Regions from separate parts of the Homo sapiens genome. Here regions 1, 2, 4, 5 and 6 are each linked to region 3. The links are contacts of gene promoters, found by promoter capture Hi-C in blood cells and fetal thymus (Javierre and others, 2016). All regions are on one chromosome and are shown on one strand. The core of a region is centred on a gene start or on the middle of the fragment in contact, and the rest is flanking DNA. Distances in the headings are between cores, read along the strand shown.

What was found. Contacts are between HindIII fragments. The CHiCAGO score rates a contact against its expected background, and 5 or more counts as called.
Region 1: a fragment that was not itself captured here is called in contact with the fragment with the promoter of GSG1L in region 3 in 4 of 17 cell types (M0 macrophages, M1 macrophages, M2 macrophages and 1 more); the score reaches 9.4 in M0 macrophages.
Region 2: a fragment that was not itself captured here is called in contact with the fragment with the promoter of GSG1L in region 3 in 2 of 17 cell types (megakaryocytes and M0 macrophages); the score reaches 7.5 in megakaryocytes.
Region 4: a fragment that was not itself captured here is called in contact with the fragment with the promoter of GSG1L in region 3 in 3 of 17 cell types (M1 macrophages, M0 macrophages and endothelial precursors); the score reaches 7.3 in M1 macrophages.
Region 5: a contact is called between a fragment that was not itself captured here and the fragment with the promoter of GSG1L in region 3, in 4 of 17 cell types (M1 macrophages, megakaryocytes, M0 macrophages and 1 more). The highest score is 12.1, in M1 macrophages.
Region 6: a fragment that was not itself captured here is called in contact with the fragment with the promoter of GSG1L in region 3 in 1 of 17 cell types (M0 macrophages); the score reaches 5.5 in M0 macrophages.

The regions. Positions count from the first base shown.
Region 1 is chr16:27,528,593-27,532,542 of GRCh38, forward strand. GTF3C1 (general transcription factor IIIC subunit 1) reads right to left here. Exons shown (of 37, transcript NM_001520.4): 6 at 6-129. Among named protein-coding and RNA genes, the nearest start is that of GTF3C1, 19 kb to the right of the region's middle. The HindIII fragment of the contact is 4,165 bases long and covers 1-3,950 here.
Region 2 is chr16:27,508,488-27,512,484 of GRCh38, forward strand. It overlaps GTF3C1 (general transcription factor IIIC subunit 1), which reads right to left. Exons shown (of 37, transcript NM_001520.4): 7 at 3,262-3,414; 8 at 53-168. Among named protein-coding and RNA genes, the nearest start is that of GTF3C1, 39 kb to the right of the region's middle. The HindIII fragment of the contact is 8,426 bases long and covers 1-3,997 here.
Region 3 is chr16:28,060,794-28,065,016 of GRCh38, forward strand. It overlaps GSG1L (GSG1 like), which reads right to left and starts at 2,921. Exons shown (of 7, transcript NM_001109763.2): 1 at 2,283-2,921. The coding sequence starts at 2,631. The HindIII fragment of the contact is 8,058 bases long and covers 1-4,223 here.
Region 4 is chr16:27,544,536-27,548,464 of GRCh38, forward strand. It overlaps GTF3C1 (general transcription factor IIIC subunit 1), which reads right to left. Exons shown (of 37, transcript NM_001520.4): 2 at 779-988. Among named protein-coding and RNA genes, the nearest start is that of GTF3C1, 3.4 kb to the right of the region's middle. The HindIII fragment of the contact is 1,208 bases long and covers 1,927-3,134 here.
Region 5 is chr16:27,491,052-27,494,849 of GRCh38, forward strand. GTF3C1 (general transcription factor IIIC subunit 1) reads right to left here. Exons shown (of 37, transcript NM_001520.4): 16 at 3,712-3,798; 17 at 2,148-2,245; 18 at 1,566-1,662; 19 at 1,287-1,464. Among named protein-coding and RNA genes, the nearest start is that of IL21R-AS1, 40 kb to the left of the region's middle. The HindIII fragment of the contact is 4,726 bases long and covers 1-3,798 here.
Region 6 is chr16:27,472,827-27,476,607 of GRCh38, forward strand. It overlaps GTF3C1 (general transcription factor IIIC subunit 1), which reads right to left. Exons shown (of 37, transcript NM_001520.4): 29 at 3,625-3,718. Among named protein-coding and RNA genes, the nearest start is that of IL21R-AS1, 21 kb to the left of the region's middle. The HindIII fragment of the contact is 2,659 bases long and covers 548-3,206 here.

The sequences.
Region 1 (3,950 bases), core at 775-3,274, 530 kb before region 3:
ATTACCTTTCTTTGTCTTACAAGGTCCACATTCAGGGTGGATCTCTTGCAAGCGAAGAGACACCACCTTGGCTAGCCCGGCGTTCAGCATATACTGGTACAGACGCTTAAACGTCCTTTCGCACAGCCCCTGCCAAAACACAATTTAAAGGCTACTATTAGACACAGCAAGATGTCTGAAATGACTAGAAAGTCATATAAATGAACACAAGTTCAGGACCTGAATTAATTGATTATCTTGAGGTACTAATGAGGAAAGCCTGCCAAGCTACCTTGTCAAGGGACCAAAACAAGGTCCAGAGCAGGATATAAACGATTCTACCTTTTGATTAGAGGGGGAAAGAGATTCGCTTCGCCAGATCCTGGAAGGGTGTGCAGGGGTGAGAATGAGGCAGGCAGGAGTGGAGGAGTGGAGACTGAAGACTTCATCTGATACCTTTTCATGTTGTTTTGATTTTTTAACCATGTAAGTGTATTACTAATACAAACACACACACACAGATACACACCCCTGTCCCCCATGGGCAGGAGAGAAAAAAAAGGGGAAAAAATAGGTTAAAAAATTTTACAGGCTGGGTGCAGTGGCTGACACCTGTAATCCCAGCACTTTGGGAGGCCGAGGCGGGCAGGTCACTTAAGGCCAGGAGTTTGGACCAGCCTGGCCAACATGGCGAAACCCCGTCACTACTAAAAATACAAACATTAGCTGGGTGCGGTGGCATATGCCTGTAATCCTAGCTACTCAGGAGGTTGAGGGTGAGAACTGCTTGAACTGGGAGGCAGAGGTTGTAATGGGCCGAGATTGCACCACTGCACTCCAGCCTGGGTGACAGAGTGAGACTCTGTTTCAAAAAAAAAAAAAAAAATTGTGAAAATTTAAATGTGGTCTCTGAAGTTACAACAGAATGATAATGGGTATTTCCATCTCATCACTCCTATTTTTGCAAGGCTGAAAACCAAAATGATCCTAGGAACATCTCCCCTGCAGGGGTGACCAACAGCAGCCTCCAGTGCAGGCGGTGCTTTTAAAATTGATACAATGTTTTTCTTCAAGAAAGTAATTTACTTGCCAAAATTGAAAAGTGAGTGATTTCACATTAAAAAAGACCTAGATTCTGGCTTCTCTTCAAAGGCTAGGACTGCAGCTCCTCACAGCAACAGTGAACAGAAGCCTTGATCAGCTGCTCTTCAGCAGGGCCCACCCGGTTCCAGGGGGCCACAGCCTTTGCGCTCCCCAATCAGACCCTCCAACAATGAAACTGAACGTCAGTTGCCATTTATCACCATTTTTGTGCTGGTTTTCTCTAATGGTAGTTAAGAGGAAAGTTAATTTCTTAAACCTATCCTGTATCAAAAATTTATTTTATACATGGCCCATTTTGCTTGTGGGTATCACCCTCCTGGGCACTGCTGCCATGTGATTTTGCAGCCCCTGGCAGGTTACCATGGCTCCCAGCAAGGGAGCGAATGGCAGGAGGCACTCGTGACTGAGAGCTGTTCACTGAATCTTACAGCTTTCCTCTTACATTCTGGGGGGAGAGACAGGGAGCAAATGTCTGTGGGCTGCCGCCGCCACATATGTGTGGTTACCTCCCAGGCTAACCAGCACTCCAGCCCTTGGGTGGCAGAACATATGGCTATCAAAACAATACAGATGACTCACATATGGCTCATTCAAAGCCACTGGCTTGTACATGGCATTTATCGTTAATCTAGCCGTGCCCCCAGCATCATAAAAAGACCCCATGGAAACTCATCCATCAGATCCCAGCCCTTGACATATGGCACTAAGCCCTGGACCATCCTAAGAGGGGAAGGATGATGTAGTCTTGCCTTCTGAGGGGCTGCCATCAACGACGTGCACAATCTGGCCAGCAGAAAGAGAAAGAGGCAGTGAGTCTTCGTACCAAATCCCCCCAAAAGGCAGCATCCATATTCATGGCCTCAGCTTCATCTATAGGCTAATTTATTCACTGAATCCTGCTCAGCTCTCTGTGACCCCAATTTCCAGCTGTTGACTAGACATCACCAGGGGATAGTCATGGAAGATCTTCATACCCAATATGTCTGAAACTGAGATTTGTCCTGTGCCTCCTCCTCACCCAAATCTGCTCCTCTTTCTGACCTATTTATTCAACTCCCATTCAGCAAATATTTACTGAGCCTCTACAGGGGGCCAGGCACTGTCTTCATCGTGGGGGCCCGCAGTGAGCAAGCAGACATGATCCCTGCGTCAGAAGCCTGCCTTTGCGCTGCCTCAGTGAGCAGCAGCCACTCCAGCGAAACTCACTGGCTTCATCTCGAGATCCTCCTTCTTCAGTCACCTCTACATCCCAGTGCAGGCACTCACCACGTCCTGTTAGTTTCACCTCCAAAATGTTTCTCAAACAATTCCAGCCCTCATGACCACAACCTCGCCACCTTCTTCCCATCCCCTTCCCTCCACCAGCTCATATGCCTAGACTGCAACCTCCACCTCCCAGGCTCAAGCGATTCTCTGGTCTCAGTCTCCCGAGTAGCTGGACTGGTGCATACCACCACCCCTGGCTAATAACTTCTTCATTTCTACACGGCCAGCAGCAGTGCATAAGGCTAAAGTTTCAAGGCTAAAGTCCCCACTCCTCAGCCAGCACTCCAGTCCTTTCTGATTGGGCCCCTACCTTCCTATCCAGCCACACAATGTGCCAGCTGCCCTCTGGATTACTGCCCACTTCTAAGCATGTTGCATGGCCTTCCACAACTCATGCCTTTGCACCAGCTCTTCTCCTTTCCCTCAAATGCCACTTCCCCTCTGTCTATGTGGGGAAAAGCCCAGCTCAACTGTGCTTTTGGCACAGCTCTTTGAGGCTTTCCCCAGTTCTCTAAAGAAAGCACCCCTTTCCCTCTACTGGCTCAGCTACATCCTTCCAGGTATGTGTTCACACGCCTGCCCTTCTGATTAGACAGCTCCACGACAGTGTGAGACCTGTCATCCTGGCTAACTTTCACCATCTTATTGTGGAACACAGTTCTAACTCAACATACACACTCCCTGAAGTATCTGTTCAATGAATAAGTGAAAGGCTGTCCAGTAACAGTCAAGGCTTGCTGCTAACACAGTCCACAGGGCTGACCTGAAACCAGACTAGCCCTGTCTCCCTGCCCCCGAGTGACTTGGTAGGAGAGAGGGTTTCAATCTCCAGAGTCTGCATGGGCTGGACAAGTAACATTAATCCACACGGTGGCCAGGTATTTGTTTATTAAGCCGGTAGGAAATTCCTTCGTTTCTGCCAGGGTTTCCTGAGAGGCCTTCTCCATCTATCTTTGATTTTCTACTCTGATAAACTGAGACACAGAGAAGCAAAACACTTCTCCCCTACTACAAACAGCAGTGCTCATGGAGTGACAAATGGCCCTGCCTCCCTGCCTCATGTCGGAGAGGTGACAGGAAGCAGGTGGACTGCGGGGGACCCAGCTAGTGCACAACTAGTTCCAGCTAACTGATGTCAGGAGAGACGGCAGGCCCAGGCTTCTCATTTCTGGAGACAGACTGGAAACCTAGATTTTTATGGAAAGTCTCAATTTCTTAAAAAATGCTAGGTCAAATTTATTTTTAACAGACCAAGTCTGGGCCACAAGCCTCCAGACTGTAACCACTGCTTTAAAGAGGCTTAGGCAGGCAGTGAATCTAGCAATGTGGAAGACACCTCCTCCCCCTGTGAACAATGAAATCAGAGAACTCCATCGATGCAACGTGGGGAAAGAACAAGGACTGTCCTGGTGCCTGCGGTCAGACAGAAGACCACTCATTAGGGGACTAACTACTAGTCACCAAAGAGCTTGACTTCAAATGTTCAGTTTTAAGTTCTGGTTTCACCTACAGGGCCATGTTGTTTTCCTCCCATCTCTAACGTTGGCTCTTTCCTGACTTGCACTGAAACCTTCCAGTCAGATTGGAAGCAGCTCCCCTCC
Region 2 (3,997 bases), core at 1,061-3,560, 550 kb before region 3:
CTGCAAGCACCTCCAAAGACAACGAGTGTTGGGGGAAGGCTCATGATGTTACCTTGACAACTTTGAATCTTTGAAGAAGTCGGCACAGCATTCTTGCTTCTAGTTTTCCCACATTCATAGCCACTCGGATTTCAGCTTGGGAAATTCCTTTCGTGCCTCTGCGCTCAACTGTGAGAAACAATACACGTGAACCCAAACCGCTGCAAAGGAGCTGTTCTGCACAAGTCAGTTTCCAGCCCACTTTTTCAGCAGACATTTTGATGCTGTGAAATTAACAGACAGAACAAAACATACGCCATTTCTCTCCCTTATCCTCCCAAGCGTGCTTCCCTCCCAAGCCTCTGAGTAATATACTATACTAGGCTAGTAATACTAACAGCTAATGTTTGAATGCTTACTATCTCATGGCCCCACGTTAAAACACTAAATGTCAGGTGATCAACAGCTGAAATACTAAAATGCAAGAACCCAATAGGTTTTACCCAACGGCAGGAAATTAGCCCTTTCGCATGAATGAACTGTTTCAGATCAATGAAATTGACCTCTTTAAGAAGCATCAAAATAATTTTTAATTCAGAACTTTTCTTAATGTGTATTCTTCATTTCCCAGTATTTCTTGATAGACACAGAGGCATTGTGGACACTGACTACTGCACTGTCCCATAAGAGTCGTGCAAGCGAGGACTTTGAAAGGAAATGGTATTCCTCAGCCCTGGAGTAAATGACTCGCAGACCACTGGCCCCCGCTGTTGCTGTGTGTAGCTTGTCTACTCCTGGGCTGTCACAAGCTGGTGTATGTCAGGATTGTGAGTATATCTGCCGCTCAGAGGCCCTTTAAATGCATCCTACTAAGCTGGAACTAAGAACTCCAGGAAGGAGTCGGCTTAGGAACTGGGAGGTGGGCAGGGAGTCCCAGCAGTAAAGCACATGAGCCGCAAGGCAGACTTGGTTGCAAAGCTCTTTGACTTTTCAGAAGTATCTTCCTCTTGGCCGGGTGCAGTGCCTCACTCCTGTAATCCCAGCACTTTGGGAGGCTGAGGCGGGCGGATCACGAGGTCAGGAGATCGAGACCATCCTGGCTAACACAGTGAAACCCCATCTCTACTAAAAATACAAAAAAATTAGCCGGGTGTGGTGGCGGGCGCCTGTAGTCCCAGCTACTCAGGAGGCTGAGGCAGGAGAATGGCGTGAACTTGGGAGGCGGAGCTTGCAGTGAGCCGAGATCACGCCACTGCACTCCAGCCTGGGCGACAGAGTGAGACTCCGTCTCAAAAAAAAAAAAAAAAAAAAAAGAAGTATCTTCCTCTTTATTTCCTGATGCATCCAAAGGCTTGAGGCTGCCTAGTAAAATCAGTCTGAATAAAGGAGGTTTTGCTATGTTGTACACGCATAAAAATAAGCAGCAGAATGAAGAAAGATGACTAGGATGTGTTCCTATACTGATCTAGCAACACGCTAAAAAGTAGGGATGAAAGGGCTAACCAGGTGTGGTGGCTCACACCTGTAATCCCAGCACTTTGGGAGGCCGAGGTGGGTGGATCACCTGAGGTTAGGAGTTCGAGACCCACCTGACCAGCATGATGAAACCTTGTCTCTACTAAAGAAATAGAAAATTAGTCCGGACGCTGTGGCTCACGCCTGTAATCCCAGCACTTTAGGAGGCCGAGGCAGGTGGATCACGAGGTCAAGAGATCGAGACCATCCTGGCTAACACGGTGAAACCCCGTCTCTACTAAAAATACAAAAAAATTAGTGGGGCATGGTGATGGGCGCCTGTAGTCCCAAGTACTCGGGAGGCTGAGGCAGGAGAATGGCGTGAACCCAGGAGGCGGAGCTTGCAGTGAGCCAAGATCGCACCACTGCACTCGAGCATGGGCGACACAGCGAGACTCCATCTCAAAAAAAAAAAGAAATACAAAATTAGCCGGGCACAGTGGTACATGCCTGTGATCCCAGCTACTTGGGAGGCTGAGGCAGGAGAATCACTTGAACTTGGGAGGCGGAGGCTGCAGTGAACTGAGATACCACTGCACTCCAGCCTGGGCGACACAGTCAAACTCCGTCTCAAAAAAGAAAAAAGAAAGGGTTAAGGGCAGCATTTCCCCAGCTGTGTTGTGTGGAACCCATTCTGAGGGACGTCAAGGGAGCTACCAAACAGCCCTCCAGAAAGGTTGGGCCGACCCAACAGCTCAATCAGATCCCTTGCAGCCACTTCACCTTCTGCTCTGTCCTCCTCCCTGCAGGAACCTGAGGCCACACCGCCTGTGACACTAGGCCACTGATGTCCCACACAGAAGTTAGGGGACCTGGGGGAAGGGTTAGGAATGGGAGAGAATGTTTTCTTTGCCCATTCATCATAAATTCCGGGCCTGTGGTAACTCCAGACCAATCTTAGAAAACAACAGGTAGCTCTTGAACCTTTGAATAATAATAGTAATAGCTTTCTTCTTCTCAGTGCTTTCTATGCACCAGGCCCTATAGCAGCTCTTTTAATTTGATGTCATTTATCCTCATAATGTGCTAGTGTGGATACTTTCACCACGTGATGGTTAACCTTAGGTGTCAATGGGACTGGATTAAGGGATACCCAGATCACTGGTCAGGTTTTATCTCTGGGTGTGTCTGTGATGGTGTTTCTGAAGGAGATTGGTGTGTAGCTCAGTGGACTAAGTGGGACAGATCTGCCCTCCATGCAGGCAGGCACCATCCAATCAGCCAGGGGCCCAGACAGAACAAGAAGCCAGAGGAAGGCGAACTTGCCCTCTCTCTCTTCTGGAGCTGCAGCCCCCTCTTCTGCTGCTCTTGGCCATCAGAACTCCAGGCTCTCCAGCCTTAGGTAACTGGGACCTGCCCCCACGGCTTCCCTAGTTCTGACGCTTCCCTGGGCCTCCAGCTCGCAGACGAGCTAGTGCGACTTCTCAGCATTCATAATTGCATGAGCCAATTACCTTAATAAGCTCCCTCTTATATATCTATGTTTATTTTTCCTACTGATTCTGTGTCTCTGGAGAACTCTAAGATGCCTGCTTTACAGATGAGGAAATGGGACTCAGAGACCTCATTAAAATCATATGGCTAAGTGGCAGAGCAAGGATTCAAACTCCAATCTGACCTTGAAGCCTAAACCCTTCTGGGGAACCAAGGCACTTCCCATTGTATTACATTCTCTATAGCAGAGCTCTCTCTCGACATGTGGGCAAAGCGCTTCTTGACTCAAATTCTCGGGATCCATATCCAAGCTGGCATGGGAACAAGACTTACTGAGGTCGTAGGTCTGTGTGAGCATATCCCGCTCGAACACAATGTCCACTGGAGGCACTGTCTTGGAGATGACCTCCTCGTCCTCGTCATCATCATGGTCATTCCGTTTAAATTCCTTCAGCAGCTTGAGGCACCGAACCATGACGTCGGTCCCTGGCAACACAAGCACGGGTTTGCCAGCAATGAGTGAAAGCAGTGCTGCGTGGGGGAGGTGAGGGGTTCTGAAATATCACAGCACATGTCAGCAGAGACAGAGATCCCCACAAAGGTCACACATATCACCGTGTCTGGACTTTTAAAAATGGCTCATCTTGGGCCACAAGACCTGAAAATGTATTCCATAAAGCTGCTTTTTGTTTTTAGAAGAATGAGTGAAGAAAGCAATGCAAATGGAAGGAATAACGAGGTGCTATTAGTCCTGTTAAATCAATAGTCAGTCACCTTCTCCTGCTGGAGACCAGCTCCATGACAACAGGAGACGCGCCTGTCTCTTCCTGTTCCCTTCCCAGCACCCAGGACACGGCCCACACTCAGGAGGCACGCGAGCAGTATTTGCCAAAAGGATGAAAAGCATCTTTTTCCTTTTAAGCTAATACTCACTGCCAATAAGGTGTGGCAGCAGTGTAAACGAGCTGTATAACCCTTCTAGAGCATTTCAAGGGGATTTTATAATGATTCCAAGTGTAAATATTTATTCCAAGAAAACAACTCAAAAAGAGGCAAAGCCTATCAGTAC
Region 3 (4,223 bases), core at 1,671-4,170:
AAGTTTCAGCAGGACCTGGTGAACGTTAAAGGCTCAATAAATGTTAGCCAACATTGTTTTTTAAATAATTTTCAATTAATAATTTTTTAAAATACTTAAATATCCCAAGTCAAGCCCTGAAAGAACTACAGGGAAATAATTGTAGCAAGTACTGGGACCGTGACCTTCAGGGAGCAGCCAACAGAGACTCCAAACAATTAAGAGGCTCAGCTGAGCAGCTTGGACCAGGACACTCCACAGAGGTAGAGACAGGACCACTCCGGTGCCAGAGATGCCTCATTGTATTTTCAGGTGTGTGCACAGAGGAAGGGAGGCAGAGGTGGTATCTCCCCAGGGCTGGGTCTCCTGAGCCTTGGAAACACCTTCTTGAACTTGGAGAAAGATGTACAGTAGCAAGATGTCTACCTCCAAGGACGAAGATGTTCCTGACAACAAGGTGTTACGAGGCCTCCGTGTGAGAGATTAGGGTTGGGCTGTGCGGAAGGCAGGGAATTTTGGCCAAGATGCCTTTTGAAGTTAATAATTTTAATTGCATCCCACAGTAAACATTTGAGTGTTGAGTGTAAACCAGAAGTGGGTCTGATGGGATGAAACCAATCAGGGGCAGGTCCATATTCAAACACCATGTATCTCTGACAAACGGCCAGCCTGGCTCAAGTCACAGAAAAGTTTGGTCAGCCACCCCCAGAAGAGAGACAGAGGAGGCAGCACCGCAGGAAGCCTCCGGTTCATCATCCCAACCCCATCCAGTATGCACCCGGCAAATGTTTATTGAAGACCTACTATGCGCTAGACATTACTGGGAGGCAGCAGTGAACAAGACCAACCGGGCTGGCCCTCACAGAGTGACATCCTATGGGGAGTGGGGACTATAAGCTAGTGACCAAAAACAGGCCCCAGAAAATGTCAGGGAGTGCCAAGTGTGGCAGGGAGATAAACGCAGTGGTGAGATCCAAAGATGGAGACCCTCCCTCCAACGGGGAGCTCACAAGGTTGTCCCTCCTCAGTATCCTGACATGGAAGGCAGGTGGGAGAGTCCCAGTGAAAGGAGCCCCTGAAGAAGGAGGTGGGGCGGGGAAGGGCATTCCAGACAGAGGATGCAGCCTGTGCAGAGGCCTGGAGCTTTTCACTGGGTTCGCTTCACAGCTTCCTCCCTCTGCCCTCTAAACCACTTAGGCCACTGGCTTATTTAGGGCAAACTAAGGGTGGAGGTCTGCTGTAACCCACCCTTGAGCACACACATATGTGTGGTGTCCACACTGAGGAGCTAGGCATGCAGGGAGGAGTTTTAACCTTGGAGAAAGAGGTCAATTCACTCAGGAGGGTGTCCATGCCTGGACACCCGCTCAGAGATACCACGTCTTTCGGGCCAGCTCTACCTGCTGTGTGGCACAACCAGCTGTCCGGCAGCTGTCCCCTGGGCCCTGCCACAGCCCGGCTGTCTGCCTCCAAAACACGCACTCCAGCCCAGGCTGCCTCTGGAGGGTAGAGGAGGGGGTCCAGGCAAAGGGGACAGTCTGATCTGCCTTCTGAAAAGTCAGTCCCCCACCGAACCTAATAGGAGCCTTGTGCTAAGCTAAGCCCTCCTGGACTCCTCGACCCGGAGTTTGCCCAGCTGTCCCCAGTTCCCTAGCCTGCCTCTCCCAGGAGGGGGCCAGGATACAGAGGGCTCCCTGGCGTCTGGCAATAGGGGTGCCTCTGGGCGGGTGCGGCTTTCCGGGAGCCCGCGGGACTCCCCCACTCCCCACTCCCGTCTGGGAGGTTCGGCGTGGGTTGGCGATGGGGGTGGAAGGCTCCCGGGTCTGTGGATCTGCGGCAGGAGGGGCGGCTGGTAGCAGGAGTCCCTGCATCACCCCCACCCCCAGGGGCGTTCCGGGGTGGGTGGGGGCATCTAGTGCCCCGCGAAAGGAAGAGGAGGAGGGGGCGAGCGTGGAGATGAGTTCAGGAGCGGAAAGCAGCGCGCGCCCCTCCGACCGGCAGCGGGGGTGGGCGCCTTCCCGGGGCGCGGGAGCGTCCCCAAAGCCGCGGGGCGTCCGCAGCGGGTAGGAGCTCTGCCTTGCACCTCTCCACGGCGGGGCGTCCCGCACGTCCCCCCATGCTGGTCCCCGGCCCCGGAACGGCGCGCGCCCCCTGCCCCGGAACGTCGCCCCTAGCCAGGCGGAGCGCTGGGAGCTGGGCCCAGGCGGCGGGAGGAGGGCGAACGGGTCCGGGGCTCGGGCCTCGATGGCCGCGCCGCCCCGGGGGAGCCGGAGCCGAGCTGGCCGCCGCCCGCGCGCACTCACCAAGCCCGCTGAGCTCCTCCTCGCACGAGTACCAGATGCCGGTGTGGAAATTCCTGAAGAGGAAGCGGTCGTCGCCGGTCTCCCAGCTGTAGAGCGCGCCGCCAGGGGGGCCGTTCCCCGAGGCGGTGGCGGCGGCGGCGGCGGCGGCGGGGGCGGCGGTGCCGTTGGCCGTGGCGTTGGCGCCCGAGTTGGGGCAGTTGGCGCGCCCGCCCTGGCCGCAGCCCGGCTTGGGGACCCGCTGCGTGCCCTGGCACCAGTGCGTGGTGAGGAAAGCGGTGGTGGCGAACAGCAGCGCCAGCAGGTTCAGGGCCACGGCCAGGAGCGCTCGGCCGCGGCGGCTAGTCTTCATGCCGCCCGCGCCGCCGGGACGGGACTGCACCGCCGGGGAGCTCCGCGCGCGAAGTTGGCAGCTGGCGCCCCGCGTCAGCGGCCGCTGCCCGCCGCGCCCCGGGGCTCGGGTGCCTGAGATCGGCGGCGGCGGACGCGGCGCGGGCCCATGCCCCCCCCAACCCCGGGGTGGGGGCGCGGCGCGGGGGGCGTGCGGGGCGGGCTGGCGGGGCGGGCGGCGGTGGAGGAGCGGCTACGGCGCGCCCGGAGCCCGGAGCGCGAGTGCACCTCGGCTAGGAGCCGCTGGCGCCTGGCAGCGGCCACGGCGCAGGGACGCGCGCCCCTCCGTGGGGAGACACCTGCAGGCGGCCGGCGACACTGTTCCGGAGCCCGCCCGCACGGGGAGAGGGGGCCGCCACGCCGGGCGCGGGCGGGGGCCTGGGAGTGGAGGGACGCCCCCGAAAGAAATCCGAGCCAGGGTGAGGGTCTGAGACGCAAGGAGAATCCCAGGCAAGGCGCTCCTGAGAAAAGATCCCCACGGCGGACGTGGGGCAACAAAACCCGCCGGGAGCGGGCATCTCATGAGACCCAGAGAGGCCCTGCCCCAGGAGACAAGGGCAGAGCCTGCTGGGGCTCCCCAAGAGGGACACGGACCAGCAGGACCCTGTCCCAGAAGGGGATCCCCAAAAGGACCCCCGCACCAGACCCTGAGAAAGGAGTTTTTCCAAAGGTTCTAAACAGCAGAGCCTGCAGGGCTTCCCACAGCCAGGGAGCTGCAAGACCCCCTGGATAAGACAACCCATGCTGGACTTGGAGTGGCAGAATCTGTCAGGAGGCGCCCCTCCTGGAGTATTGGGTTATAGGGTTTGAAACGTTTTTCTGTCTCCTGGGTGTCACCTCCAGCATCTGGGAAGAGCTCCCCTCCAAGGATGAAACTGTCATCTGGGCTCCCAACCATGGCATGCAACTGCAGGAAGAGTGGCAACAGGGTACCCCAGACAGCCCACTGCACCCACCTGAGATCCCAAACAGCAGAACCCTAGGAGGGCCCATGCCGGCCACAAAGTTATTGCAGCTACCAGGCAGTGGTGCCCTACAGGGGCTGCCAACCCTGCTCACATGCACACCATGTGAATGTGGGTAGAATCTTCAAGATTCGGGTGGGGGCAGGGTGGCCAAACATACTGACTTTGGGATCAAGCATATCTAGGGCTTGACCAGCTGTGTGGCTTTGAACAGGTCACTTACCCTCTCTGAGCCTCAATTTCCATAACTATAAAAAAGGGAGGACCCCCCCCCCTTCAAGGTATATCACAGTGGGCTGCTGTAATGAGATCATGGCTGCAAAAAGCATTTGGCACACAGTAGACTCAATTAATAATTCACTGTTACTGACATCTGAACCAAGATCAGTTGACCAAACTCAGACAAACCTCTTCAGGCTCTCCTGTGCAACGTGGAAACTGTGTGCAACCCCGTCCCCACCTCTGCTCTAAGATGACCACGCTCCCTGAACTCCCTTCGCGCTGCACAGCACTTACTGCCCAGATGCTCAGGGCGTGCAACAATTAATTGCATGTTGATTATAAGAGCTCATTTGAATTCTGCCCAAGC
Region 4 (3,929 bases), core at 1,281-3,780, 520 kb before region 3:
TCCGAGATGAGAGTAGACAGGGAAGAAATGTGGAAAAGTCTGCAAGTCAAGAAAGAAGGTGGAAGTTAGCAGAGTTCACATTGCCCTGTAAAGTAGGAAGGAAGGCAGGAATGGAGTTAGGTGCTTGAAAAAAAATGATCATTTGGATTAGACACTCTGGGGAATTGGGATACTGACTGAGGATTCACAAGAGAATGGCTTGGCAGCACAGGGCCCAGGTAGGAAGAGAGAAAGGGCACCATTCAAGTGCTCAAGGACTGTGAGCACAAAGGAAAGAGAAAGGCAGGACCCGTGACCCCAGTGAAGAAGGCGAATGAAGGCCAAGAACTGGCGTAGTGCAGGGCTAGTGAACTCTGACAGACTCCAAGGTTGTGGGCCAGATCCAAGTGCTCTGACTACACATTCAAAGCACTCAGATTCCCAGGAATTTCTTTTTTCCTTTTTTTTTTTTTTTGTAGACAGGGTCTGACTCTGTTGCCTAGGCTGAAGTGCAGTGGCATGACCTCGGCTCACTGCAGCCTGCCTCTGCTTTCTGGGTTCAAGTGATTCTCATGCCTCAGCCACTACAGTAGCTGGGATTATGGGCATGTGCCACCACACCCGGCTAATTTTTGTATTTTTAGTAGAAACAGCGTTTTGCCATGTTGGCCAGGCTGGTCTTGAACTCCTGGCCTCAAGTGATCCACCTGCCTCGGCCTCTTAAAGTGCTGGGATTACAGGCGTGAGCCACCGTACCCGGCCAGATTCCCAGGAATTTCTGATGGTGCAAAATAGTTACCTGTCAAAGGCTTCCACCATTGTACAGCGAGGCTGCAAGGACTTGGTTCTGATGTCATTGGTAATGTTTTTCCTCTCCTTAAAGTAGCGGCATGAGCCCTGGATGCCATCCTTATTCTCTAAGATCATATGAATGGGGTAGACATCCTCCAAAGCCACCGGGTCCCTCCTAGACTCCAAAATTCCAGTTTCCAAATCAATTTCTTCATACCTAAGGAGAAAAACACAAATATCAAAGCCCAACTCAGCTTCAGATATAATGTGTGCTTGGCTGTGTTCTTTTGACAACCTCCAGCAGAGATCAGAGAGAAGTGAGATCAGTCAGTTTTCCTGCCTTATAAATGCAGATAATCTTGACAAGCAGGTTCCTGCCTTTCTATCCCACAGAACGCAGACCTTTCCAGGACTCCCCAGACTATTCCAGAAGCTGGGTGCTGGGACCTAAACCTCCTTATTGGCCAAGTCATGGGCTTTTGTTTCCCTCCAAATCTGGTACTCAGTCTCCAAACCACCAAGTTGGACGAAATGATTCAAGGCTTTCCTCCGCTTTTTTGAGATGGAGTTTTGCTCTTGTTGCCCAGGCTAGAGTCCAATGGCATGATCTTGGCTCACTGCAACCTCCACTTCCCAGGTTCAAGCAATTCTCCTGCCTGAGCCTCCCAAGGAGCTGGGATTATAGGGGTGTGCCACCACGCCCGGCTAATTTTGTATTTTTAGTAGAGATGACGGTTCACCATGTTGGTCAGGGTGGTCTCGAACTCCTGACCTCGGTGATCCACCCGCCTCAGCTTCCCAAAGTGCTGAGATTACAGGTGGGAGCCACCACAAGTGGCCAAAGCTTTCCTCCCTTTAAGATCTCATCTTTCCATCTCTCCTTAGTTATCTCTCTAATATCCTAACCCATTTTCATGGTTTGCATTACCGCCTGCATGTTAACAAGTCTCACCTTTGAATCCTCAGTCCTTTTTCTCCAAATACAGATCCAATGTCTTCACTTGTCTATTAAATGCCTCCCATTCCAAATATGATTACCTCTCCCCAGCTCCAATTAAGTCCCTTCTTTCCCCTCTTACTACCGCTTTCTTCCATGTGCCTCTTACAACACCATGGAGACATTTTTCATTTGTGCTTCTTTCATGCAGTTAGCCAAGCTTGTCAAGTTTTTTTTTTTTTGAAAAAAAAAAAAAATACATACATATATATATATATAATTTTTTTTCCCCTCACTATGTTGCCCAGATTGGTCTTGAACTACCGGGCTCAAGTAATCTGCCCACTTCAGCCTTGCAAAGTGCTAGGATTACAGGTGTGAGCCACCTTGCCTGGCTGCTTGTCGAGTTTTATTTTGAAATCTCACTCATATCCTACACTAGTCTAATTGCGGCTAAATCCTATGTACATGTTTCAGCCCTTTCCTTCCTTGCCCCCTCTGTGTTATCTGCACCATTTAACCCTCCATTCCTTTTTTTTAAGACTTGAGTTTTGATCTTGTCACCCAGGCTGGAGTGCAGTGGCGCAATCTCGGCTCACTGCAACCTCTACCTTCTGGGTTCAAGCGATTCTCCTGCCTCAGCCTCCCTAGTAGCTGGGATCACAGGCACCTGCCACCACACCCAGCTAATTTTTGTATTTTTAGTAGAGAGAGGGTTTCACGATGTTGGCCAAATGATCCACCTGCCTCGGCCTCCCAAAGTGCTGGGATTACAGGCATGATTCACCACACCCAGCCCAACCCTCCGTTCTTAAATGATCCTGTCTCCTCCCAAACTTCCAGAACACCACTCTGACCTGACTGTCCTCTACCTCTCCAGCCACACCGCCTCAGTCTTCTTTTGAAAGTCCCTCACCCTCCATCCAGCCTTGAAATGTAGGTGCACTGCAGAGCTATATCTCAAGACCTCCAACCACACTACACTCTCTCTTAGGGCTGATCTTAGCCAGCTGCTTTAATTACCAGCTGCTAGGAATGACTCACAGATGTCTAGCTCAGTCCCTCCCTCTGGCCTGCTTTCACTCCCACGAAGCCAGATGTTTACTAATTAAGACTCTTCACTTGGACAACTCAAAAGAACCTGAAGCTAAATGTGTCACATGTCTCTTCAGCAAAGTCCCCACCTCCCCCAGACTCAACCCCCACGCTGTTCTTCCGTGTTCCCAGCCTCAGAGATGAGAATCAGGGTTCGCTCAGGTGCCCAAACAGCAGCCTACTATGTCTTGACTGCCTGTGCTCTTCATCCCCACGCCCACCATGGTAAGCCAGACCATGACTAGATTACTAAAAATCTCTCAACTTCACTCTTTGCCCCTAGTCTGACCCTCTCTTCAGTGACTTCTCACTGTCCTTTTGATAAAGGATAAGCTTTTTTTTTGAGATGGATTCTCCCTCTGTCACCCAGGCTGGAGTGCAGTGGCACAATCTCGGCTCACTGCAGCCTCCACCTAGCTGGGATTTCAGGCGTCTACCACCACGCCCAGCTAATTTTTGTATTTTTAGTAGACATGGGGTTTCACCATGTTGGCTGGACTGGTCTTGAACTCCTGACCTCAAGTTATCCGCCCACCTCTGCCTCTCAAAGTGCTGGGATTACAGGCTGATAAACTCTTTAAGTAGGTTAAAAGACTTGATTCCAGTCCAATTTGGCTGGAATCTGAACTCAGACCTTCCTCAAAGTCTGGGTTCTTCCCTTGCTAGTTGACTTTTAGCATGCCACTTGACCCCTCAGGGCCTCGATTTTCTCTTCAGGAAAATGGGGAGAATATTACCCATCTCCTAAGGTTTCTGTAAAAATTAAATAACATGTTGTATTAAGGATCTTAGCACAGTCCTAGCTATTCCTCATTCCCTACCTCCAATTCCACACTTCAGCCACTTACTTCACATTTGCTGTTCTCTGTCCAACAGTCCTCTTTGCCAACTGGCTGCCTAAATCCAACCTTTAAGTTTTGTCTCGAACATTATTTTATTTTATTTTTGAGACAGAGTCTCACTCTGTCACCCAGGCTGGAGTGCAATGGCTGAATCTCAGCTCACTGAAACCTCTGTCTCCCAGGTTCAAGTGATTCTCCTGCCTCAGCCTCCTGAGTAGCTGGGATACAGGCATGCGCCACCACGCCAGGCTAATTTTTGTATTTTTAGTAGAGATAGGGTTTCA
Region 5 (3,798 bases), core at 706-3,205, 570 kb before region 3:
GGCAAAAGCCTAGCTCACTGCTGAATGCCAGAGGATTCTATGAAACACACTGTTCTAAAATACGTCTGGACCCATGAAAGTTTCTAAATACAAGTGCTATTACTCTTGGCATTAAATAATTCTGCCAAGCAAAATGTGTGACTCCCACTTTGCAAAAATCAAAGTGTGATACTGGATCTTTCAGCTTCAAGAAGGGAGGAGCGGAATGGAACTCCTCTTGGAGGTGCAAGCTGAACGTGGCTTCCTTTCTCTCCTGGTAGAGGTGGCAGGAAAAGGCCAGGTGGAGAAAGGCCTGGAGGAAAAGCACTGCAGGGGAGGCTCTCTTGCCTTCCGTAGACCCTCCATGCATTTGATCCACATTTACAGGATGCCGACTGTGCACCCGACACTTTGCGACACATCATGGGGATGGAAGCCAACTATTCTAGGCACAAGGAACTCCCAAGATGAAATGGAATGATGCTAATAAAGGTGTGGACACGCTTTCTCTGAGAGGTGACACCTGAAGTAGGAGTGGGCATCTGAGAAGCCAGTGTGGGAGGGAGGGTCCTTCTAGGGAGAGAGAGGGGTGTGGGCAGAGGCTCCCCACAAAGCCCAACTCAGCCAAGTCACCAGCACATCTGATCAGTTCCCTCCAAAACACCTCTAGGCCTGTCCTGTCCTCCTCACTGTCACCAGTGGACGGCCACTCTCCTCCTACCCACATGGCCTCCTCTCTTTCTCCAACATACCACTCAAGGCTTCAGCCTGTGTCACTGCCCCTGCCTGGGATGCCCTCCCCAGCTCTGGCCCTGGCTGGCTCTGCCTCATCCTATAGAATTCAGCTCCAATGTCTCCTCCTCAGCAAGGCTGTTCCCGAGCCCTGGAATAAACACCACCCCAACCAACACCTAGGCCCTCACTGCACTCCTGTGAGCTGTGTCTCCTCTTCACACTAGATTTTGAGTCTCACGAAGGCAGGGCGGGCTGTGTTCTCATTGTGGCACTGTCAGGCACAGGAAGTGACACACAGCCGGTGTGTTTAATAAATACCTACTCAATGAACAAATGAAGACAAAGTGCAGCTACTTGGGCTCAACTGAGTGGGGGAACCGGAAGCACCCCACCCATTCAAGGCCCGCCACTTTCCTTTCCAAGGGAGCCCCAGGGGTGCTCTGGGCCTCTGGGGAGCACTCGGAACATACCACTGGTTGAGGCAACTCCTAGGCTTTTCTAGCCCTAAATCCCAGTTAGCACACAGAAAGGAGCAAAAGCAGCCAGGTTCAGCCGAGACAGCCGACACCCACCTAGTGGGGTGTTGAGGCAGACGCACTGCAGGTCAAACCAGTAGTTTTCCACATCCTGCATTGAGTTCAGGACATAGAGGCGCCTCTCGAAGGGCCGGCTGCTGCGGGCCAGGTTGTAATGTGGGTCGCAGATGGTAGTGTCAACAATGACTGCATTCTTCTTCAAGAAGATAAAGACCTAAGGGGAGACACCAGACAGGGAGAACCCACATTGGGTCTGGCTGCTTGGAGACCGTTTAACAATCAGAATTTCCTTCGTTTGGGCTTGAGGGACATTACCTGATCTTTATCCTGAAACTTTTCCGTGGGACCAAACTGTAGCAGCCCCATGTAGCACAGCCTCTGAAGGTTCTCCACCACCGAAAAAATGTAACGCCTAGAAAACAGAGGGGGCGGGAGGTTCTCATCACACCACACTCGCAGCCGGCCGCAGGGGTCTGCATGTGGGGTGAGGGGTGCGACTTCCTTCTTCTCTTTTCCACCTGGTGGTCACTGGAGGACCAGCCTCAAGCCCACACTGCACTAAGGCCCAGAACTACCCAACCTAACACCCAACCAGGGCCACAGAGATCAACCCGACACTAGGGATTTGATTTGGAAAGTAAAAGTAATGAAAGGGAAAAAAAATTCCGATACTTGCAGACACTAGCAGCAGATTTTACTTTAAAAGAACCTTCAAATCAAGTAATAAAATATACCAGCCCATACTTCATTAATATTAATAACTTAATAAAAATCTTGAGTTTTTGCAAGCTGGAAGTTAGAAACCTTTTCCTCTTCCTGGTGAATGATGGCTTAGAGCCCTGACTTAAGGGTTTGTTTGGACCTGCGACTACTCTGGGTCAGGTTCAATGGCCTCACCTCTTGTACAGAAGCTGCTGCCGAATGGGCCTGGGGAGAAAGCGGATCAGCGTGTGCTTCTTCAGCGGGTCGTTCAGAAATTCCTCCAGGTTGTCCACCTGAAGAGGTGATGTGCAGGTTCAGCTCGCCCTGAGGGCCAGGGCGACCTGCAAGAATCTTGAAAAAGTGCTCGCCACTATTTTCTGACCATAGTCTCCCTGAACCTGCCCACTGGGCTCTCCTTCCTGCCCCACCAAGTGCCCCTGCATCTCTGCCTTTGGCCTCGCTGCCCCTCCCCTCCAGCCCATCTACCACACTGCAGAGGGCAATAAACAGGTGCCCTCATACCCTGCTGGTAGGCATAGAAATTGCTAAACCTTTCCCGGGGGCAACATAAGAATATATACATTTATATTTTAAACAAGAAAAGATGAGATAGAGAACACGCGTTCCTTTTGAAGCCAGTGATTCTGCTCCTATCCTTACCCAAAGGAAAAAATGCTGGAGCCGCCAATCTATGTCTACCCAAAAGGTATTCATCAACATGTCATAATAAATACCTACTCAACAGTAGTAAGAAAGTGGAATTTAAATGTCCAAAAATAGAAAATATTATGGTTAAATAAATTAGACACATAAGAATACTATGACTCTACTTAATATCAAGTCTAAAAAGTTAATGATGCAAAAAATACAAAACATTCTTTAGTCAAAAGCACAGACAATAAAAGAGTGAATATAGTTTCAATTCAGCTTTTTTTTTTAAAGGGAGATCACACACATACCCGTGTACATACAAGTATGGCATAGCAATAAAAGACTACAAAAACCTTACCAAGAAGATAATTACTTAGTAGTAATTATCTCTATGAGTGATACAGTTATGGGTAATTTCTATTTTATCTTTCTCTATTTACCAAATTTCTAAAAACAACATGTTTTGGTCGGGTGCAATGGCTCACGCCTGTAATCCCAGCACTTTGGGAGGCCAAGACGGGCGGATCACAAGGTCAGAAGATTGAGACCATCCTGGCTAACATGGCAAAACCCCGTCTCTATTAAAAATATAAAAAATTAGCCTGGCGTGGTGGTGGGTGCCTGTAGTCCCAGCTACTTGGGAGGCTGAGGAAGGAGAATGGCGTGAAACTGGGAGGCAGAGGTTGCAGTGAGCAGAGATCGCGCCACTGCACTCCAGCCTAGACGACAGAGCAAGACTCTGTCTCATAAAAAAAAAACAAAAAAAAAAAACAAAAAAAACCACGTTTTATTGTTGTAATATAATTGTCTTTCTGTCTACCTACCTACCAATAGATCCATTTAGAAGAGCGAGTCTTTAAAGTATTTACCCGCCAACCACCCACCCATCCACCCAATCATCTTTCTAATCTAATCTAGTCTAATCTATCTCGAACAAATCCTTAAAATATTTTCCCTTGAATGAGCATCTGCCTATCCATCTATCCACCAATCCATTCATCTGGGCAACACCGGGTCTTCAAGTATCCTCCCTTGCCCAGGTGAGTGTAGGCCCTCCAGCCCAGAGCTGAGGGGCAATTCCTGTGATAATGGCTCCTGTCACCAATACCTTGTAGCTGACTTGCACAATCTGGATGAAGATGGAGAGGGGAAGGCAGAGGAGGATGTCGCTGACGAGAGCCCAGCCAAAGCCGAA
Region 6 (3,781 bases), core at 627-3,126, 590 kb before region 3:
TATATTATCCTGTTTTATTTTCTCCATAGCAGCCACCTGAAACAATCTCATTTGCTTACTCATTGTTTGGAAGTCCCAGGAGAACACAGATTCAACTCCTTTTTTTTTGAGCCAGGGTCTCACTCTGTTGCCCAGGCTGGAGTACAGTGACACCAACATAGCTCACTGCAGCCTCGACCTCCTGGCTCAAGCGGTCCTCCTGCTTCAGCCTCCTGGGTAGCCGGGACTACAGGCACTATGCCTGGTTAATTTTTGTATTTTTTGTAGAGATGGGTTTTTCACCATGTTGCCCAGGCTGGTCTCAAACTCCTGGCCTCATCCTGCCTCAGCCTCCCAAAGTGCTGGGATTACAGGCGTAAGCCACCATGCCTGGCCTAGATTCAACTCTTGCTGTTGCCACCCCAGTGCCTAGGCGGAAGGAAGTACCTCTGCTGGACATGCCATGGTGACTTCATGGCTCAGCCTGCTAAGTCTCATGGACCTGGGCCCCGCCTAGTGAACAAGCAGCTCAAAGGACTGTGCAGTCAGCAGAGTCTCTGTTACTCCAAGCTTCTGCAAAGGGCAAGCAACCAGCAGTTCCTGAGTATCTAGCATTTGCCATCCTCTGAGAGAGCTCCTATAGGACTGTCTCCTCAAAAGCACTGGCCAAGAAAAATCCCTGTCATGGTCTAAGGATTTTAGGTGCTGCCCCCAGGACCTTCAGTGACAGAGGAGGCTGAGGCACATGGACTTTAAGTGATCCTCTGAGGTCACACTGTCAGGCAGGGGTGGGTCAGAGGAGAGAAGAGCAACCTCACCACTGCACCTTCCTTCCAGTGGAGGGACACAAGGGGACCGGGGACCGGTGCGGTGGTCAGCTGGGGCTCTGGGGCAGCACCCAGGTGTTCCCTGGAGCGTATCTGAATGAAGCCTGTGCAACTTGCTTCCTCTAGACAGCACCTGTGCGCCAGTCCTGGGCATGCAGACCATCAGACCTTATGGGGGAACACTCTCCATGTGGTGGGCGGGAGAAGCTGGGAGTGGCCATTACACCATCATCCTTCCCTAGAGCACTGGAGGGAAGCTGCATCTCACTCCTTGTGACAAGCCTTCTGTGACTTTGCTCTTCTCTTCCATTTGAATATAACTAGCGAATGGGTGTATTCCCACATAACAGGATAGGAGCGCTCAGGCCATGTGTGGTGAGTTGGGGGGTATCGTCCACCCACTCACATTTCCAAGAGGCTGGGCTGTCACAGGCACAGTGAGCCCACCTGCAGCCTTCCACTGGCTTCCCGGAACCTTGAGGGGAGCCTCGCGGGGTCCCCTATGGGGCTCTGACATTGCTGTTGGCCTTCCAGTCCTCACTCAAGAGTCACTAAAGAAGTGTCCTGTTTCCTGCTCGGGGAGGGAGGCTACGCAGGCCGGTGGTCTTTCTAAGGTGACTTTCCATGCCCCTGGGGGTTAAGGCAGAGTGACTAGGCCTTCGGTACCACACATCAGAGCCCAGGTGCCACCTGGAGATGGAACTGGAACTGGAGGAGGAAAAAGCCGTGGGAATAATACTGGGGATGGGCCTGGCTAGAAGGCAGGGGGCCCAGCTTTTGCCGTTGGGGCTGGGCTTTCTTGTTTGGAGGTGGGGTACAGTGGGAAGGATCCCCAAAGTCCCCTCCAGCTCTGAGCCACTAATCAGCAGGATAGCTGGAAGGCCCACCCCACAGCCAGAAGTCGGAAATTTGGACTCCTGTGTGCAATGTTGGAAAAAACATTTTTTGAAAAAAAAATTTTGTTTTTTCCTTTTAAACAAGCGTGAGACCAATAAAATACGGTCTGTGGACTGTTTATTTGGAACTTCACCCAATACTATTTATTCTTTTCTCTGCAAGTTCAGGCTCAGACAGGGCTTTGCTTTCATCTACAAAATGCTGGGGTGGCAGAGGGCGCACGGCACAGATACTAGCCTTCCACTCCAAATGTGTACACTTGACCGTATGTGTAAAACAGGCAGGAGGAAATAAAACACAGGGTTCAAGGGATGCACAGCAAGTGTATGAGGACATTTCTCGGGCCTCCCTGATTGATGGTCCCATGTGTCCCTGCAGGAGGCACAGAGAACCTCCAGGTGGTGATTAAAACAGGAGAAATCAAATGCACACTCTGTCTTGGGTGTGCTGAGGTCTGGCCATGGCCGTTAAAGACTAGGGCCAGGGTGCTGCTCTGAAGCAGGGCATTCAAGCCCAGCGTGGCATTTTCCTGAACCAGTTCCATTTCCCCCAGTCCTCCCTGCCCCGCTGTGGCCAAAGTAACAAGCACGTGCAGCGCCCCGCCAGGGTCAACACTGCTGTTTCTGCAAGGGTGGCCCATGGGCCCCTTCGGGATTGGGGAGGGGTGGCACACTCTTATCAGGGCCCCACTCCACTGCTCTTGACTGGAGTCTCTGAGAATAGGGCTTGGGCTTAACATGCTATAAGATCTCTCTGTGGACTGTGAGGCGCCCTAATGATCGGGTCCTCACCCATCTGAATTCATCGGCGGGATTAGGAAAGTCCCTTTGTTTTCTTATTCTTTTTTCCCCTCGTATTCCAAATCAGGTGACTTGTTAATGTAAGCCAGGAGCAGATTTTTAGGGTTAGTGATTAAATACAAAATGAACGGGTCCTCCTTAGAATTCACTTTTGATGACTTGGGGGAGAACGAGGCCCTGGGCAGCACTGGCAGGGGACCCTCAGCACCTCTCTGTTGGGGTCTTGGGTGATGACTGAGATATGTGGTCTTGGGTGTGTGATTTAACTTCTCTGAACCTCAAGTGCCCACATTTGTATAAGAGTAGTAAGACCACTGACTTCCCAGGCTCCACCGGGGGTTCGATGTGATTTCCCTTCCTCACTCTCATGTTCTTTCAGCCGCAGTAGAGCGGCCGCGTGGACCTGTGTCCTCGGGAGACAGATGACTCACTGCCCACGGAAAGGCAGCTTTCCCATCCAGTGACCTCCCACAACCAGAATATCTTGGCATTCCAAAGTGATGATTTGAAAAGCTATGCCGTATAGCTCAATTACTTTCTCAGGTCCTTTGCCATGCCTCATTTCCTCTCCTGCTTCATTTTCTGTCTTAAACATTAGACTTAAAAACCTCAGCTCTGGGAGGGATTGTGGAGGTCACTAGATCCCATCCCCATGCTTTAAAGACTAAAGAGAGAGATGAGGAAAGCTGGCCAAGGGGTGCAAAGCTTCAGTTCTATGAGATGCTAAGCCCTGGAGGCTCACAGCTTGGTAATGACAGGTGACAATCTGGTGCTGTACACTTGAAATGCACCAGGAGGAGAGATCGCCAAGTGTGCTCACCATAATGAGAAAAGGTACTATGTGGGGTGATGGATGTGCTAATTGGCTTGACTGTGACGATTATTCTGCAATGTATACGTACATCAAATCCTCCAGTTGTATAACATAAACATACACAATAAACACAAAGAAATAAAAATAAAACAACGATAAAAAAATAAAGTTGAAAGACATGTGGGCTGGCATTTTGGGGGAATCAGCCCAAGAGCCCACAGCGGAGAAGGGCAGGGGCCAGCACCTCACGAGCCTGGCCTCGGAAGGGCCCACATCCCCGCTGTGCTGCCGGGCAGCCGACACCCACCTGGAATGACTGGTAGGACTTCATCTGACTGTCTGAGAGGGCCAGCGTGCTCTGGATCAGGTTCTGAAGCACCAGAAAGTGGATGTCATCCACGCTGAAAGAGAGGGGGCAGCAGGGCACCATGAGACCACAGGCACTGCTCAGCTCAGGCAGATGC